Regions from separate parts of the Homo sapiens genome. Here region 2 is linked to region 1. Evidence: promoter capture Hi-C in human tissues and cell types (Jung and others, 2019). All regions are on one chromosome and are shown on one strand. The core of a region is centred on a gene start or on the middle of the fragment in contact, and the rest is flanking DNA. Distances in the headings are between cores, read along the strand shown.

The links. Contacts are between HindIII fragments. The study calls those that stand out against the background at their distance.
Region 2: a contact is called between a fragment that was not itself captured here and the fragment with the promoter of BBS12 in region 1, in 1 of the 25 tissues and cell types used here (dorsolateral prefrontal cortex).

What each region holds. Positions count from the first base shown.
Region 1 is chr4:122,728,212-122,733,988 of GRCh38, forward strand. BBS12 (Bardet-Biedl syndrome 12) reads left to right here and starts at 4,493. Exons shown (of 2, transcript NM_152618.3): 1 at 4,493-4,673. It also overlaps the pseudogene CETN4P. RefSeq lists a silencer at 4,163-4,382 and an enhancer at 4,743-4,952. The HindIII fragment of the contact is 3,301 bases long and covers 3,264-5,777 here.
Region 2 is chr4:124,149,556-124,155,452 of GRCh38, forward strand. The region is part of intron 2 of LOC105377407 (a long non-coding RNA gene); the gene reads right to left. Among named protein-coding and RNA genes, the nearest start is that of LINC02516, 410 kb to the right of the region's middle. The HindIII fragment of the contact is 6,713 bases long and covers 1-5,897 here.

The sequences.
Region 1 (5,777 bases), core at 3,243-5,742:
GATATTAATTTAAGCAAAACGTTGGAAACTAAAATGTCTCCCATTAGAAGACTGTCAAATATAATAATTGATATAATGAATTATATGGCCATTCCATTCCATTAGAATGGAATATTATACAGATATTTTATTTGTATTGTTATGCAACTATTTCTCAAGTTATGTAACTATTTCTCAAATATATACACAATGTGTATAATATGCTATCATTTGTGAAAAAACTATTCTGTATACATATGTATATGAATATGCATTCTCTGTAATGATTCATTAAAAAGTGGCAAAAATCTTTGTCTTTAGGAAGAACTGGGGCTTGGATAGGAAGGAGACTTTTATTCAGAACTTTTGGAACTTGTTCATGTATACTTTTAACCATTTGAAGGCTAACATTTTCACATATGAAGCACATTTAATAGGCAAGTTTTTCCCTGGTCTAGAAGAAATGTTACATAATTAGAAATCAAAGACACTGTGAAAACACTTGAGAATGCTCATGAGCACATACAATTCTAGTTTCAATCAAATAAAACCTCTTGTGTTGACAAGACAAAATTAAAACCTTCAGTTTTCATTTCAGTTGTGCTAAAAATGAACCAGGTAGTGTCACTATAGTTAATTTTCTATGAGTCTTTCTTGCTCCAAAGACAACTTGGTTATCAGAAAGTGTTTGTGTGGAGCAAGTGGCATCTGTTGCCTATTTGTCAGGAGCAGAAGTCTGAGCACTTCTGTCCACTGCATCTTGTTTCAAAGTCGCCAAGGAAAACAATGCAGTGAAACACTGGGTGGAACACACATTACTCACATACAGAAGAGACAGAGCAAGATCAGCTTCCCTAGTGGACTTCAGTCTCCCATGACCAGAGGGTCCCTCTTGGCAGCTGACACAGGGCAGGTGGCCTGCAAACACTCCTCTTGTGCTGAAGGACCCCCATCCCCTCCCCCACAGGAGACAGAGCAGTGGGGTTGGTCAGATGCCATATGATGCACACACTTAAGCAGGGCAAAGGACTACACATTGACTCTGAAACAGAGGAAGATATTACTATACGGGGTGGTAAGTTCAGCACAGGCTCTGTGGACTCCTAGTCTCTTCAAAAGAAGTGTTCCAGGCCCAAGGCCCACTCTCAAACAACTGAGTAGGAGTTAAAAGACTGTATGTATGAGATTCCGTTTCCCAACAGTTTGGCTCTTTCACAAGGAAGAAATCACAAGAGTCACAGAATTGAAAATGAGTTAGAAAATACACAGTTATCTTGAAAGTTTTATCCATAGGGAAGCAGCATAATGAAGAATAAGAACTTAAGATTTGGAATCCATGTTTTATTTCTTATCAATGGGCAACTGGGGAATTTTTAAAACTTCTCTGAACTTTAGTTTTCTTGTATGTAAAATGGAGCTAATACAATCAGCTTCCAACTTGTAATATGTTTACTGAGGTTAACACATAAAATCTCGGCCAGGCACGGTGGCTCACCCCTGTAATCCCAGCAGTTTGGGAGGCTGAGGTAGGCAGATCATGAGGTCAGGAGATTGAGACCATCATGGCTAACACAGTGAAACTCCGTCTCTACTAAAAATGCAAAAAATTAGCTAGGCATGGTGGCAGGTACCTGTAGTCCCAGCTACTCGGGAGGCTGAGGCAGGAGAATCTCTTGAGCCCAGGAGGCAGAGGTTGCATTGAGCCGAGATCGCACCACTGCACTCCAGCCTGGGTGACAGAGGGAGATTTTGTCTCAAAAAATATATAAATAAAATTTTTTAAAAATAAAACTCTACACCACCTGTCCTAGCACAGAGGTATTAAGTGCTCACTATAGAGTCAAACTTACAGGGAAATATGGGTGATGTAAGTGCTATTTTGAATTTTCTTTATAACTAAAAGAAGAAAATTAGCAAATAATGTTTCCAGACAGTTCTATTTAATACTTTATGTATTTGAGTAACTGACTAAAAAGCAAATGTTCATCAGGTTTTTTTGGGTTGCACAAAAGGAAAATATAAGTTTTGTTTGCCAAATTCATTTGGATGTGAAGCCAACTTCATCAAACTTTAAAATTCTAAGTCTTTGTGACCTAAGGTTCTCAAAAGAGCAGCTAGAATCAATACTGTTCTTGGATTAATGGCTCAAAGAAGTCATTATGTTTTGTTTCTTGATGCTGTAGATTTAACATCATATTGGTAGAGATGTGTAACTTCTTACATGGATTAGACATCAAGAAGCCAATGTGTACATATAAACTAAAAACTGAAAATGAATACATTCAGATATTAAATTATAAAACTGCATAACAAATACAAATTTGTTAATTTTCCACAAGGACTAAAACAACGCTATTAATAACGAGTAGTCTTTTTCATCACTCTCAAAACATCTTCCTCGTTTATTTCTCCATCTCTATCATGATCAGCTTCATCAAGCATTTCCTGTAAAACAAAATGTAAATATATGAAATACATTTAAAATGACATAAATGAAGTCAAACACATATTCAAAACCAAATTTTATTTTAAATGCATAAGTGCAACTAAAGTTAGAATTATAATCCTAAATTATCACATAAGTTATAATTACATATAAATTATAATTATAAAAATAAGCAAAATCTACCTGAAGTTCATCATGTTAAATTTTCCCCTGGTTTCTTAGCAAACCTCTTGATACCGGTTAGTATTATACTTCCAGTATCATCATCATCAAATAATTTGAAAGTCTTCAATATTTCTTCTTTTTCATCTTTTTTACTCTTTTAAAAAAGAAGCAACTATCCAGTCTTTCATTTATTTATTTTATCAAGCTGGACTTAATTAGATCTTTGGGGTCTAAAGCAGCAATGTGCCAAGTAGCTGTGTTCTGATTTTATTTATTGGTCTTTTAACAATTATGTACTCACACCTGCCCTCAAGGTGCTTAAAGGTAGAGCTTGCTAAGGTGGAGAAGGCACAGGGTGGTCCAGAATGCATCTCTTATTAAACCTCATAATTCAGATCCGTTACCAAAAATGTAAGCTTCAAAATGGAAGGTTGTATCTTTCAATGCTCCTTAGAATAGTGCCTGGCAAAAATAGGCATTCAATATATGTTGCTGAATTAAAGGCTTCCAAATTCTGGCCCCATTCTCTCTATCCTGCAATATAGCCTCATTATTTCCTGACAAAAACCTCTTCTCCACATCATAGTCTTCTCATTACTACCCTGAAAACATATTTAATCTTGCTCTTCCTATCTCCCATCCTTAAAAACCTAGTTCTAATTGCTTCTCTATAAAACTTCTGATTGCTCCAGCCCTAAAATGTAGCAGGTTATTGCTAGTATTTCTTTGAAAAATAAAATCATAACTATATCATTTTTATACTCATAATGGCAAAAAAAAATCTTCAAAACTAATGGTGCCAATTCCTTCTTTATCAACTTCAGCTACCATTTTTTAAATTTCTTCTTTCTTTGGTTCAAATCCTAAGGCCCACACTGCAATCTGAAATAGGAAGAAAAGGAATTATAATATGCCATGATTTCTTTCTAAGCTTTTTAACTCCCTATTAAGAGCTTCTCTCTTTTCTATTATGGACTGAGCATAAACAGAAAATTAGGTCAGCAGGCCTGTGTTTCAGTCCTACTGTGCCATCATGTACATCACTGTTACACCCTGGGCTTTTGCCTACTCATTTATAAAACACAATTAAAATGCTTAACAAGATATCGTTTTGCTAATGCAGGGCAGGCATATGCACTGAAGAGACTTTATATTAAGCTTTCAGAAGACTACTTTTAAAGAAAGCCTTAAAGATTGCCACAAATAATATGGTTTTTAAAATGATTTAGAATTAGAAATAATTTCAGAACCTTCTTTTACATCGATGGTTCCAGACCCATCAATATCAAATAAATTAAAGGCGTCTTTAATTTCTTGCTTTTGGGATTCATTCAGTTCAATTTTTGCTGCTCTTTTCTTCCATTGGTCTGAACTTGTATGGTAGTTAGATGCCTGTAATACACACACATATGGGTGAAAGATAAATTATATAACTGGAATAGTTAGCAGAACCAGAATAATTGATGATAAACTATATTAAAGTACCTATTTCCTACTATAAAATGAATCTCAACAGGAGTAAGGAAGGAGTGCAGTTGCTGCCAGGGGCAGCCTTCCTTGCTCTGGCGGAAAAACTTCGGCCCCGGCCCCAGCAGAAGGTTACAGCTTCACACTCACCAGGTCCCCAGCCGGCAGCCGGCGCTCTCAGCCGGGACCTCCCGGCGTCACCTCCCGCAGCCCCGCCCAACCCAAGTCTTCACAGCTCACTGGCGGTTGCTAAGGCCGCTCTCACCGACCTCTCTCAGCCCCGCCCACCCAGCCTGAGTTATTGACATCCAGTTCATCCAATGGACAGAAAAAAAGGCCTTTAAACCAGCCCTTTCTCTCTACTCCCTACCAATAGCGTGACGTCCCCGCCTTTCGCAGCCCGGCGTTAAGCGGAACTTCTCTCTCCAGCTGTGTCTCTTAGCAACTAAGCCCCCGGCTCCTCCAGAAGCCCCTCTTCGCACATGCGCAAACTGCGGACGGGGAACTGGGCTCCCTAGCCCTGGCGTTTTTGGTGTTGCTGTCCCAGCCAGAATCGCGTCTGGCCGGTGGGAAGCCGGGAACTCCAGCCCCCTGTAGGAGAGGAGAAAGGAGCGAGGTTAGTAGTGAGGTGCTTCCGCTGACTGCTAAGCTAAGTCTTTCCTGAAGACGTGGGAGCCCGTGTGTTTGATTTTTCTGTCCTCTTCGGGCCAGGGAAAGAATGAGAATCTAGGGCCTGGAGGTCCTGGGGTGAATTGGTCCAGCATGTGGCTAGGAGTACTAGAGGAAGAGGGGACTGCCCTTTCTTTTTGCCGCTAGACTTTCCTCATTTTCTACAGTGCCTGGAGCTGGGCCTTCAGCCATTTACCTCCTCCCTGTTTTGGGCAGGGATTCTGGCATGGTAGACACCAGAATTCTGTATAGCAGTGGCATGGGGTAACAGTGTCGTTGGAGGGACGTGGGTATTGGGATAAGCATGGGTCTTGGGATGTATTTAAAGCTTCACTACATACATAGATAAACGTTTTTACATGTTTCGTGTAGCATTTGTTTACGAGGTAGGACTTTGGCCCCACCCATAATTACTATCGGACCCCGCCCTCCAACCCCAACACACACACACACACACACACACACACACACACACACACACACACACATCCAGCCATTTCCTTGGCCCAGTCCTAAGATTTGGCCAGTTGTCAACGATATCAACTTGATCTGCACTTCAGAGTCAGACACAGGTAGTCTGATTATCCAGTTGATTCAGTAACGGCCTAGATTTAGATACTTGTGAAACTTTTGTAAACCAACTCAATCTCTTGTCCAGAGGGCCAGATTTACTGCTTCTGCCCGTTCTGAATTTGGCCAGGAATCAGCTTAAAGGACAGGGGAGAAAGACTGAGGTAGGATGGACCACTGACTTCCTGGTGGGAATGAAGGAATGAGAGAATCTTAAAACTTCTAACCTTTAATTGCTCACACATGCGGACCCCTTTTATGCCTCCTACAATGTCTTCTCTAGAGGAAATATTTTCTAAAAATTATACTGGATTCTTCAAAAATGGATTCAGGAAGAATACTAACTTTAGTCTTTTTTTTTTTTTTTTTTTTTTTGTCTCACTTATCTTCCTGAAGGCAGGAGAGGAAAACAAGTGCAAAGTGCATTCTTGAAGCACTCTGTCAAATCACTTTTCATGCTTCATTGAGTAGAAACATGGCA
Region 2 (5,897 bases), core at 2,069-4,568, 1.4 Mb after region 1:
ACCAATCAGATTGGATTAGAGTCCACCTTAATGACCTCATTTTAACTTAATTACCTTGTTAAAAATCCTGTCTCCAAATATAGTCACATTAGTCTTGGGCACTGGAGGTCAGGACTAGAACATAGGAATTTGGAGAAGGAACACAATTCAGCCCAAAACAGACCCCAAATCTACCCAATAACAAGTTTCAATCTTAATTGCAATTGAACCAGATTTGGCAAGGACTAACCCAACTCAGATTTTCTAGGCATCTAAATGTTTAAATATGTATTGCACATGTGTTTCACCTCACCTGCTCTTTTTCCCTGGTGTGCATTGGTTTTAGCTGTCACTCCTTTGGTTTAGAAAATTACTCCACCCAGTTCCACAATTAGCTTTAATGAAGAAGTTAAAAATCACCCTTCTTAATGACTCTCTGCTTAGAATTTGATCACTGAAGTTATGTTGATTCAATATTTTGAATACTTTCAATCCAAATTTACAGAAACACATAGAAATTAGTGAGTATTGTAAAAAATGTCAATTTCTGATATGTTTACTTTCTCATTTTGGTAGTGAAAGAAACAAAGCATAATGAATTTCCAGGGGGGAAAAAAGGGCTCTCACTGTGATAAATACAGGGAAGAGAAATTGACCCTTTAAGAAGGGGCATTAATCCTTAAGTGGTATCATTGTTTACTGAGGAGACTCAATAAACGTAAGATTATTTTATGCTTTAACCATTTACCACCTTCAGAGGTGCTATAACAAAATCTCCCTTCTCTGTTGGAAAACATTTTGGGACGATTTGATAACTTCTTAGGCAATTTTAGTAATCACAATTTTAGTTAAAAGATACAATGTTTCAGTTATATGGGAGGAATGAGTTCAAGAGATTTGTTGTATAACATGGTGACCACAGATAATGTATTTTGTTGTTGAAAATAACTAAGAATGTAGATTGTAAGTATTGTCACCACAAAAAATGATAAATATATGAGTTAGTGAACATGCTAATTATCTTTAATTGAGCCATTTCACAATGTACACAAATTTTAAAAATCATGTTGTACTTGATAAATATATGCAATTTTTGTCCATTGAAAAATAAATTAAATATAAAGAATAAAAGAGTCTATTCTAATTTATAACTTCAGTATTATATTTGATATTAATATTATATTTGATATATAATTCTCCATTACTGGAAACAAAAAGTTGTAAGTATTCCATAATCTAAAGTTAGTCACTGAGCAACTGACTACATTCTTTCCCTTCCCCTATTGCTGGCCAGCTCTGAAGTGGCCAGCTCTCTCCACCCTGAAATCAGTCCAATCTTTTATTCCCCTTCTCAGAGGTGTAGGGAAGATTACAAGTGATTCTTGTGAAGTACTCTCTCGGCTTGGATTTGCAATCTTCCCCACAGGCTGAATCATTCTTTCAAGGCTTCTTACTGATGATGGTCATATAAATGGAGAAAGGAGAATGGAGGTTGATATGCTGGCTGGTGGCCGTAAAGGAGGAAGTTATTTGTGGCTTTCTGTAGATTGTAGAATAATTAGAAAATGTTGTCTCCAGTTCATGGCCTTAGTTTCCAAATTCAGAGGACTCAGCATCCTATTATATTAGTAAAAGATTCATTCATTCAGAAAACAACGATGGTGGAAATGGCCAACTTGTAAGACATTGAATTCTGACCAACTGCCTTGGAATTTCCTTGGAAGTCTACATTTTTAAAAGAATGAATGGGGAAATGAAAGACTTATTCAAAACAGATTTTCTCAGTTCTTAAAATTTCTAAAAAGAAACCTATTTGTATGGCAGATCCCCACTAATTTTCATGACACATAGTAGTCTAGGTTATGTCCCCATTTTGTAAATGTAATTTGTGCACTATTAGATGTCTCTTTAGCTTTAATTTCTGCATATTTTGAATAATATGCATGCTTGCCCTACTAATATAAATATTACACTGTTTTTAGGATTAAAAAAAAACCAAGATGGATATTTAATTGTTTAATAAACTGCAAAATGCTAACATGGCATAGTGGTGTTTTCTTTTTTGGTTCTATTTATTTCAAAACTTATTTGTGTATAAAAATGACTCTGCAAAGAAGAAGAGTAGGCTTTGGAAATAATTTAAAAAATCACCCCACCTCTATCTTTTTCCTCTCAGAAGAACTGAAAACAGAATCAACGATAACTGATCACTGAGACCCTGAATGGGAGGGGAGCAGAATCCTTTGTCATGCCCTCAAGCAGCCAGATATAAAGAGGGTGGGGGAGAGCCACTAGGCTTCAAGCTGGAACTGAGCTTTCATCAGGTAGATTTTCCAAGGAGGGTAGTGATTCAGAATAACAAGCTTGTATTTGGTCAGTACTGGGTCTGTTCCTCACTCATATATAGTGTGGTCTTGATCAAGTTGCTAATGTGTAAATGTGCATAATAATACCACGGCATTGGGTGGATAAAAAACCATGTAATATATAAGCATGCAACATTACCTCATACTATTACACCTTATTAGCTCTAGTTGTGTGTTAGCATTATTTGAAGGGCTCTCCATGTATGGTATCATTTATATAGTTGTAAGTGCTTTTCATATCTTACTTACATTGTGGGTTTACATGTGCTATATACTTTTTAAGCTTAATGGTAGTTAGCAGTAAGAAAAGCTAGCAAAAGCAAAATTTGTCCAGTTTTTCTTAAAACTTCAGTGCTTTCAACCACAAAGTTGGAAAGCATGGCAACATTGGGGAAGTCGGCAGAGGGCCGGAAGAGCTGTCGACCACGGAATGAGGGTTTTCTCCCGGCTGCATAATTACTGGCATCTGTAAGCACAGCCTTTTGTGTGGGTTCCCTTGGACACAAGCTGCATTACTATTTAAGTGATCCTTTTTCAGTACTATTCTACTGGACACGAAGTGTGTTCATTTCACTCTCAATATCCAGTTTCAAGGCTGAAGAACCGCACACTCATGGCGAGAATGAAAGATCTATTTATTTTCTCTGAACAGATTATATAAGAATGCTTCTTGACAGACTTCTTTTTGATCTTATAATATGATAAAGCTTGAAAAGATATTAGATGTAACTGAACCTATATTTTTCAGTGTTCTGCAGAATCTAAATATATGTTGTAAGAAGATAAAGAGATTTCCTTGGGGGATAAAATTTGGGAAATGTTGGGATTTAGAAATTAAACAAGTTTCTTCACTAAAAACAGTTTAAAAAAACTGTAGTACTCTAATGTGCTCACTAAACCTCCAAGAAAGATATAGAGAATATAGTGTGTGTCTATTTTCCTAGGAACACTTTCATGGAGCTTCTCCTGAGGATACTACTCCATGGAACATACATTAAGAAATAGTGCTCCTTAGTTTAATTAGATCCCATTTGTCAATTTTGGCTTTTGTTGCCATTGCTTTTGGTGTTTTGGACATGAAGTCCTTGCCCACGCCTATGTCCTGAATGGTAATGCCTAGGTTTTCTTCTAGGGTTTTTATGGTTTTAGGTCTAACGTTTAAATCTTTAATCCATCTTGAATTGATTTTTGTATAAGGTGTAAGGAAGGGATCCAGTTTCAGCTTTCTACATATGGCTAGCCAGTTTTCCCAGCACCATTTGTTAAATAGGGAATCCTTTCCCCATTGCTTGTTTTTCTCAGGTTTGTCAAAGATCAGATAGTTGTAGATATGTGGCATTATTTCTGAGGGCTCTGTTCTGTTCCATTGATCTATATCTCTGTTTTGGTACCAGTACCATGCTGTTTTGGTTACTGTAGCCTTGTAGTATAGTTTGAAGTCAGGTAGTGTGATGCCTCCAGCTTTGTTCTTTTGGCTTAGGATTGACTTGGCGATGCGGGCTCTTTTTTGGTTCCATATGAACTTTAAAGTAGTTTTTTCCAATTCTGTGAAGAAAGTCATTGGTAGCTTGATGGGGATGGCATTGAATCTGTAAATTACCTTGGGCAGTATGGCCATTTTCACGATATTGATTCTTCCTACCCATGAGCATGGAATGTTCTTCCATTTGTTTGTGTCCTCTTTTATTTCCTTGAGCAGTGGTTTGTAGTTCTCCTTGAAGAGGTCCTTCACATCCCTTGTAAGTTGGATTCCTAGGTATTTTATTCTCTTTGAAGCAATTGTGAATGGGAGTTCACTCATGATTTGGCCCTCTGTTTGTCTGTTGTTGGTGTATAAGAATGCTTGTGATTTTTGTACATTGATTTTGTATCCTGAGACTTTGCTGAAGTTGCTTATCAGCTTAAGGAGATTTTGGGCTGAGACGATGGGGTTTTCTAGATAAACAATCATGTCGTCTGCAAACAGGGACAATTTGACTTCCTCTTTTCCTAATTGAATACCCTTTATTTCCTTCTCCTACCTAATTGCCCTGGCCAGAACTTCCAACACTATGTTGAATAGGAGCGGTGAGAGAGGGCATCCCTGTCTTGTGCCAGTTTTCAAAGGGAATGCTTCCAGTTTTTGCCCATTCAGTATGATATTGGCTGTGGGTTTGTCATAGATAGCTCTTATTATTTTGAAATACCTAAAGAGCTTCTGCACAGCAAAAGAAACTACCATCAGAGTGAACAGGCAACCTACAACATGGGAGAAAATTTTCGCAACCTACTCATCTGACAAAGGGCTAATATCCAGAATCTACAATGAACTCAAACAAATTTACAAGAAAAAAACAAACAACCCCATCAAAAAGTGGGCGAAGGACATGAACAGACACTTCTCAAAAGAAGACATTTATGCAGCCAAAAAACACATGAAGAAATGCTCATCATCACTGGCCATCAGAGAAATGCAAATCAAAACCACTATGAGATATCATCTCACACCAGTTAGAATGGCAATCATTAAAAAGTCAGGAAACAACAGGTGCTGGAGAGGATGTGGAGAAATAGGAACACTTTTACACTGTTGGTGGGACTGTAAACTAGCTCAACCATTGTGGAAGTCAGTGTGGCGATTCCTCAGGGATCTAGAACTAGAAATACCATTTGACCCAGCCATCCCATTACTGGGTATATACCCAAAGGACTATAAATCATGCTGCTATAAAGACACATGCACACGTATGTTTATTGTGGCACTATTCACAATAGCAAAGACTTGGAACCAACCCAAATGTCCAACAATGATAGACTGGATTAAGAAAATGTGGCACATATACACCATGGAATACTATGCAGCCATAAAAAATGATGAGTTCATGTCCTTTGTAGGGACATGGATGAAATTGGAAACCATCATTCTCAGTAAACTATCGCAAGAACAAAAAACCAAACACCGCATATTCTCACTCATAGGTGGGAATTGAACAATGAGATCACATGGACACAGGAAGGGGAATATCACACTCTGGGGACTGTGGTGGGGTCGGGGGAGGGGGGAGGGTTAGCATTGGGAGATATATCTAATGCTAGATGACACGTTAGTGGGTGCAGCGCACCAGCATGGCACATGTATACATATGTAACTAACCTGCACAATGTGCACATGTACCCTAAAACTTAGAGTATAATAAAAAAAAAAAAACATTAAAAAAAAAAAAAAAAAAAAAAAAGAAATAGTGATCCAAGTCTACCACCCTTATTATTCAGATAAGGAAACTGTGGCCCAGAAAGATGACCCTGGAGTCCTAATGTGAAGTCTGCATGAAAATCGTCCCCCCCAATTTTCCCTTCACCCACACTATATCAAAATAAACCTCAAAGTGTCCTGCTTGAAACATAACTGACAGCTTCAACTTCAGTAGTTGGGCCGTTTCATGTGATGACCTTTTAAACTGATCATAATCTCTTATGCCCCCAATTTTCCTGTGAATTATCTTTTCACAGTTTTGAGAAAATCACATTTCAATGTTTTTGTTTAATGTTTTATCTCCAAACTCAGTATAGATT